Regions from separate parts of the Homo sapiens genome. Here region 1 is linked to region 2. The links are contacts of gene promoters, found by promoter capture Hi-C in human tissues and cell types (Jung and others, 2019). All regions are on one chromosome and are shown on one strand. Each heading gives the region's core, a stretch centred on a gene start or on the middle of the fragment in contact. The rest is flanking DNA. Distances are from core to core; before and after follow the strand shown.

Region 1 (3,826 bases), core at 1,284-3,783, 510 kb after region 2:
TCTCTGCCACCCAGTCTGCAGCGAGGGAGGCAGGCCCTGAGGCATCCTTTGTGCAGGGACTTGAGGCTGGAAGGACACTGGCTGAGGACTGGACCTTGGAGCTTTCTGATGCAAAATGTGCTTCGTTTGTGTCTATTCATCGTTGTTTGTTACCTTATTTTGTAACCACCCCTGCCTCTTGGAGCATCTCTGCTCTCTGAACTGAGGGACAGGCCCGGTTCTGCTAAGTGAAGCTTGGGCTTCTCCTTCTCTTTCCCGAGTTCCAGGGGTAGAGGCGGACTGTCCTTTGCAGACTGTTTGGTGACAGGGTCGCCTGGAGATTGTGGGAGTCAGGTATCCCTTGCTGTCCAGCCACAGGAGGTGGACAGATCTGGACAGAAAGGGCTGCTGTGTCCCCAGATTCTCCCCACCCTCCACCCACTCTCCCTGCAGGAGCTTGGCCTGTGCCTTGTAGCCCCCCTGCCCCTTTCCATTTGGAAACTGGGGAAGACTTAGCCCTGTGCTGCACACTTCCCGTCATGCTGACACTGTTGTCTTCTCTGCCGCACACACAGCAGGATTCCTGGTTTTCAAGCCTGAGCTGATCTCTCGGCTGGAGCAGGGAGAAGAGCCATGGGTCCTCGACCTGCAGGGAGCAGAGGGGACAGAGGCACCAAGGACCTCCAAGACAGGTGAGGCTTAGATCCCATCGCAGAGAAGCCCTGGGGTGAGGAGAAACTGCAGGAGGGGCCTCACAACTGTGGGTAGCTGTGGGTGAGTCGCGGGGGCTACACTGGGATGCCTGGGAATGCTACTGGGGAAGCAGCATCCAGCACCTAGAAGGGAGCATAGACCCGTTGTGGGGCTGCCTTGGGAGAGGCCAAACTGCAGAAGAGCCAAGACACAAAAACCCATGCATTTCCACAAAAACGGAGCTTGTTTTTGAATCATGTCACATTTTGTTCTATTTTTAATTTTACTCATACTTTCGTTAAGCAAAGATACAAACCTATGGATCCAAGTGAAGGGTTAGGTTTGGCATTCAGTAACCTCTCCTCGGGTAAGCATATTCCCTGAGGCAGCTCCCTTCAGACCCTCTCAGGCTCCAGGAGTGCATTACTTTCCTGTGGCTGCCATAACAATGAACCACAGACTAGGAAGCTTAAAACAACAGAAATTTATTGTCTCACAGCTGTGGAGGCCGGAAATCTGAAACCGGGGGGTCAGCAAGCAGGGCCGTGCCCCCCTGTGAAGGCTTTAGGGAAGGATCCTGTCCTGCCTCTCCGGGCAGCTGGTGGTTTTCTGGCAGTCCTTGGGTTCCTTGGCTTGTGGATGCGTCCCTCACTCTGATCTCCGACTCCTTCACACGGCTGCCTTCTCCCTGCGTGTCTGTGTTCATGTGGCCATCTCCTTAGAAGGACACCAGTCATGGTGGGTTAGGGGCCACCCCAGTGACCTCATGGTGACTAATTAATCTGCAACGACTGTGTTTCCAAACAAGGTCACATTCTGAGGTGCTTCAAGTTAGGACTTCAGCCTATCTTGGGGTCCTCAGCCCTAACCAGGGCACCCACTGCCTCCGGCATCAGCTCCTGCTGGGCAGGCGCCCGGCCTGGTGCTCTGCTCCCCTGCTTAGCCGGTGTGCTGCCCAGCATGACAAGGGAGATGGGTCTGCGTGCATCTCAGCTGCAGAAAGGAAGCCCCTCACCTCCCTTTCAGTTGCTGCTGGGTCATCACCGTCACTCCTGCAGCAGGGCAGGACCAGGTCCTACAGAGGCCACCGGCTTGTAGGGGCCTCGGGAAGCAAGTTGGACAGTCCAAAGTTGTGAAAAGTAGGGGCCGTGGAGCCGGGCATGGTGGCTCACGCCGGCCATTCTAGCGATTTGGGAGGCCGAGGTGGGCGGATCACGAGGTCAGGAGATCGAGACCATCCTGGCCAACACGGTGAAACCCTGTGTCTACTAAAAATACAAAAAATTAACCAGGCGTGGTGGCAGGCGCCTGTAGTCCCAGCTACTCGGGAGGCCGAGGCAGGAGAATGGTGTGAGCCCAGGAGGCAGAGCTTGCAGTGAGCCGAGATTGCGCTACTGCACTCCAGCCTGGGCGACAGAGCGAGATGACGTCTCAAAAAAAAAAAAAAAAAAAAAGCAGGGGCTGTGATCTTACTTCCATTCATATGCGCCTAGGGGCTGTGACCTTACTTCCATTCATATGCGCCTAGGGGCTGTGACCTTACTTCCATTCATATGCGCCTAGGGGCTGTGACCTTACTTCCATTCATATGCGCCTAGGGGCTGTGACCTTACTTCCATTCATATGCGCCTAGGGGCTGTGACCTTACTTCCATTCATATGCGCCTAGGGGCTGTGACCTTACTTCCATTCATATGCGCCTAGGGGCTGTGACCTTACTTCCATTCATATGCCCCTAGGCAGCTTCAAAGGACAAGGAGGGTTTCTGAGCCTCTTCACGCCCTGTGGGCCTTGCAGCCGCCCAGGAAGTCTGCATGTGATGTGTGGGAAGAGTGGTCAGGAACCCTGGCCTCACTGGCTCTGCTGGCTACTCCCATGTGATCCTTTCTGCTCAGTCTCCCTGAGAAGGAGGTTCAGCTATAAGGTGGCCCAGTTAAAACCCAGCCGCCCATTAAAATGTCTCCAACATGGACAGGAGCGTTTAAAGAGGGTGCCATGGCAGAAAAGCCAGCTACAGTTGGCAGAAATAGTTCAGTGGGTTTATATGTAGCAGGTGGTCCTCACTGTGATAAAGCAACAACAAAAAAATAGAATCCCACAGTAGGTGAGAGCTGCTGTTGATGGACCCAGCACTTGCTCGCAGACCTGAGAGTCCGGGGCAGGGATGTAGCCTCTTAGATAAAACATGCAGCAGCACAAAACCAGAATACATGAAGCAAGGCAGAAATGCCCAGATATGTTACTTGTCCCCAGCTGGTACAGTCAGCATCAGATACTGAAAGATATTGGCCCAGAGCAGTGGAGGAGCGGCCAGGTCCCAGCTGTGCACCCCCACGCTTTTGACCACCACCGTGCCCCCTGCTGGGTGGTTCCTGGCATCCCCCAACAAAGCCTTGCTGTCAGCTTGGCCCTGCTCTCTCTGCCGCTGCTCTTTATTTTTTTATTTTTTGAGATGGAGTCTTTGTTGCCCAGGCTGGAGTGCAGTGGCATGATCTTGGCTCACTGCAACCTCTGCCTGCCAGGTTCAAGTGATTCTTGTGCCTCAGCCTCCCAAGTAGCCGGGATTACAGGCGTGAGCCACTGCACCTGGCCACCCTGCTCTCTTATCTTCACAGCAGGGGAAGGCTTGGGAGGAGTGTCAAGCAAGCCCTGTTGAAAGAGCAGGCATGCTGAGGTGGTGTGGTTGTGCAGGGAAAGCAGCACATGAGGACCAGGCCTGGAGATGCCTCCTGTCCTCACAGGCCTTGAGCATCCCTGCTACACAATGAGGTTGAAAGGGCTTCCTGCTCTGATTCTCCAGGACTGATAGGAAGACCTTTGGAGATCCCTGGAAGCCGGAGACTCACCACCAATGGTTAGGAGTGGGCAGGAACCGAAGCTTGAAGCCCTGTAACTGGGCTGTGCATTCATGTGGGGTAGACTCGGGCTGGTTATAGCTGTGGCTGCGTGGTTGTGGTTGTGAACGTGATTGTGTCGTGGTGGGGACCGTGGTTGTCATGATCATAGCCGTGTGTTGTGGTTGCATCCTGTCATGGTTTGATCACAGACATCAAGGAGATGTCTGACCTCAGCAGAGGTGCCCTCTAGGGTTACAGAGTAGGACAGAAGCCTGTGCTTACTTGGAGAGTCCAGAAGGAACGCAGATGTCTGGAAGG
Region 2 (3,568 bases), core at 776-3,275:
GGAGGCCAAGGCAGGTGGATCACCTGAGTTCAGGAGTTCGAGACCAGCCTGACCAACATGGAGAAACCCCATCTCTACTAAAAATACAAAATTAGCCGGGTGTGGTGGGCGCCTCTAATCCCAGCTACTCTGGAGGCTGAGGCAGGAGAATCACTTGAACCTGGGAGGCAGAGGTTGCAGTGAGCCAAGAATGTGCCATTTTACTCCAGCCTGGGCAACAAGAGCAAAACTAGTCTCAAAAAAAAAGAAAAGAAAAAAAAAGAAATCTCAATTCCCACGTCCTCCACAGGTCATGTAGCCATCCCCCTGCCTCCTGGAGAGAGGGTAACTCCAGGAGCCACACCTCCTTTTCAGGTAGGAGGTGCCTAGGCCAGCCTCCCTCACCAGCACCCCAGGCCCACAGCAGGCAAGCACCCCTCTCAGGAGGGCCACCCTCCTCCCCACGGCCCCTTCAAGGCCTCCGTGCCCGACCTTTGTCCATGTTGCTCCATGCCTGACTCTCGCTGAGGTTATCTTATCTCCCAGATGAACTGAGCACCCTGAGGGCCACGACAGTGCCTGCCCTCCCCCAACCCCCTCCCCATGGTGCCCCGTGAAGGAAAGCTCTGTTCTTGCTCACTGAGAGAGCAAATCATTGCCAACTACATGTCCAAAATCAGCCCACTTCTGCCTTGATAACCTCTAGGCCCTCAGCTGCTCTCTAAAACAAAGCCCTGAGGGCCCCTGGGCCAGGGTAAAGGCCATAAAGGGGGGATGGAGGGTGGCAAGGGGATTGCTCAAGGCCAGCTTGGTGGAGGAAGCCAATGCCCAGGCTGGCCAAGTCCTTCCCATCGGCCATGGTTCTCTCCCTCCACCCCTCTCTGTCAGTCATCCAGCTGAGCAGGGCACACGCCTGCAGGTGTGTCCACCACCCCCATACCCCACTCCCCACCTGGAGGATGGAAGTCCCAACACAGAACCCAACTCTCTGTCCCTACAACAGACGCTGGCTCTGGCAACATCGGCAGGGCTCCAGGCCAGCCTAACCACTGGAGCAATGAATGGGCCACGCAGCCACTCTCAGAAGGGTCTGCAAGGACAAGAACGCCTCTAACACTGCCCCTTGTCCGGGGCAGCTGCTGATTCCCCTGTCCTCGGACAGGCCTGGGCTCCTCTGGCCCCCTCCCTGGCAGGCCAGCCCTCCTCTGGGAGCCTTTCCTACCCGCAAGGCACCGCTCATAGCACCAAGAAGGAACCTATCACCACAAACTGCCCAGATCTTATCTGACTCCTTCCATATAAGGGGACACTGTCCAGGGCCGGGCCCCCACCAGCCCGCCCCTCGAAAAGCTCCTCAGGAGCCCCTGAGGATGCACAGACCCAAGAGGATCTGGATGCGGGACACCTGCCGGCTCCCCTCTGCCTGGCCAAGGCCAGCTCCAGAGCCCCTACCCAGTGACCTTGTCAGGTGACTCTCCCCAAGCCTCAGTTTCCCCACAGGGCCCATAGGGCACACCGATCCCCGCTTAGCCCAGGGCCCATGTTCTCGGACTCGGAGCTCGCGCTTCGGCCAACCCCGGAAAGTCGCGGGGCCCTTGGGTCAGAGGTTAGGGGGTCAGGCGCTCCGCTACCTCAGCTCCCAGTGGCCGCTGCCCACGCCGGCGTCTCCGTCCTTGTTGGGGGCCGGGGCTGGCGCGTCCCCCGCGGCTCCCACGTCGGGGCCCGCAGCGGCGTCCCGCACCTCCTCTTCCGCCGCCGCAGGCCCGCCGCCGCCGTGGCTCGAGGGCCGCGACCCTGTCCTCCGGCGCCGGGAGCTGCCGCGGTCGCCCATGGCCTCAGCCCGCACCCGGCCGCAGCCAAGCGTGGGCCCGCCGGGTTCGTAGCGCCCGAGGCGCGCGGCCCCACCTCCGGGCCCTAGACAACGGCCGCCACTGCCCCCTGCCGGCCGCCGTAGCCCGGGTGACCGCCTCACCAGCGCGTTCAACCCGCCCGCGTCGGGCCCGTCGGCCTCAAGGACAACGGCTGCGTTGCTCCGGAGCCGCTAACTAATGGACGGCCGCCTCTCTCGTCCATTTGTAGTCCGCGGCCGACCTGAGGCGGGGCCTGGAGAGGCTGACGGGGCGCAGGGCACCCTGGGAGTCGTAGTCGCCGCGGGCGCGCCGGCGCAGAGCACCCTGGGAGTCGTAGTCGCCGCGGCCGCACCGGCGCAGAGCACCCTGGGAGCCGTGGCAGCTCCCAGGGCCGGGGCTGCGGGCCGCAAGTGCGCGCAGCGGGAACGGACCTTGCATCGCTCCCGCGTGGTCCCGGGGTCCTGTCCGGCCCCACGGAGCGGGATGGTCCGCTGAGGGGTGCGCTGGGCCCCGACTTCCTGGCCGCTGTGCGCCCGCCCCTCGTCCCACTTGTGTACACACGGGGTCTCGGCGAGTCACTCCGGGCAATCATTTAGGAAGCGCCTAGTGCGCCACGGTCCAGCTGTCCGGGCCGGTGTCCGCGGCGGCTCGCGTCGCCCGCCACCCAGCGCGTTGGTTTCTGCGCACGCAGCTTACAGTAACGTCCCTGGCGCGCTTCTGCTCCGCGAGCCCTCTGGTTACCCCGGCAGGAACCTGCTTTTCTTCGCCTTAGGGGGACGTCAGACAAGGGCCAGGTCAGAAGACCAAGCTGGAGAAATGCACCAGGCCCTGCGTCACCGGGACGCCTGCCTTGCACGCGACTCCCAGGCTCTCCACCTCCCCGCCTGCAGAGCCCGGCGAGAGGAGGGCGAGGGCGAGGGCGAGGGCGCAGGCCCCTTGGTGGTGTCTTCTCAGCCCACCCACTCTCTCCACAAGGAGCTCCACGTCCCTCAACTCTCAGGGCCTCCCAGTTTCCAACGTGGGCCAGCCTCTCCAGGATGTCAGAAGTCTGGGCCGCTGGATCGCCGGGACTCAAGAGGCTTCTGTGCATTTGCACGGCCTGTGCAACCGCCCTGTTGTTTTTTGTTTTCTTTTTTCTTTTTTTGAGACAGTCTCACTCTGTCGCCAGGCTGGAGTGCAGTAGCGCGATCTCGTCTCACTGCAACCTCCACCTCCTGGGTTCAAGCGATTCTCCTGCCTCAGCCTCCCGAGTAGCCAGGACTACAGGCGCGTGCCACCACGCCCAGCTAATTTTTCTGTTTTTAGTAGAGACGGGCTTTCACCATATTGGCCAGGCTGGTCTCGATCTCCTGACCTCGTGATCCGCCCACCTCGGCCTCCCAAAGTGCTGGGATTATAGGCGCAAGCCACCGCGCCTGGCCTGTTGTTATTTTTTCTAAAGATGGGGGTCTCGCTATTCTGCCCAGGCTGGTCTCGAACTCCTGGCCTCACGCAATCCTCCCACCTCGGCCTCTGAAGGTGCTGGGATTACAGGTATGAGCCACTGCCCCAGACATCTTGTATGTTAAATGAAGCAACTAATCAACTGTAACAGCCACAGTTGCGGCCCACCTTGGCTTGGTGTGCATATTGCACAGGGCATGGAGTGAGAACATCCTGGATCTCAGGATGCCAGGGTTCACTGAGGACTCTGACTCTAGAAACACCTTCATTCCTCTGGGGTGAGCAGGGGCAAGCAG

What was found. Contacts are between HindIII fragments. The study calls those that stand out against the background at their distance.
Region 1: a fragment that was not itself captured here is called in contact with the fragment with the promoter of DGAT1 in region 2 in 2 of the 25 tissues and cell types used here (dorsolateral prefrontal cortex and spleen).

Annotation. Positions count from the first base shown.
Region 1 is chr8:144,836,837-144,840,662 of GRCh38, forward strand. ZNF7 (zinc finger protein 7) reads left to right here. Exons shown (of 5, transcript NM_003416.4): 4 at 555-671. It also overlaps a transcript of COMMD5 not described here. Among named protein-coding and RNA genes, the nearest start is that of ZNF7, 11 kb to the left of the region's middle. RefSeq lists an enhancer at 2,017-2,570. The HindIII fragment of the contact is 3,694 bases long and covers 687-3,826 here.
Region 2 is chr8:144,324,827-144,328,394 of GRCh38, forward strand. It overlaps DGAT1 (diacylglycerol O-acyltransferase 1), which reads right to left and starts at 2,026. Exons shown (of 17, transcript NM_012079.6): 1 at 1,611-2,026. The coding sequence starts at 1,810. RefSeq lists silencers at 1,653-1,722, 1,733-2,452. The HindIII fragment of the contact is 53,552 bases long and covers 1-3,568 here.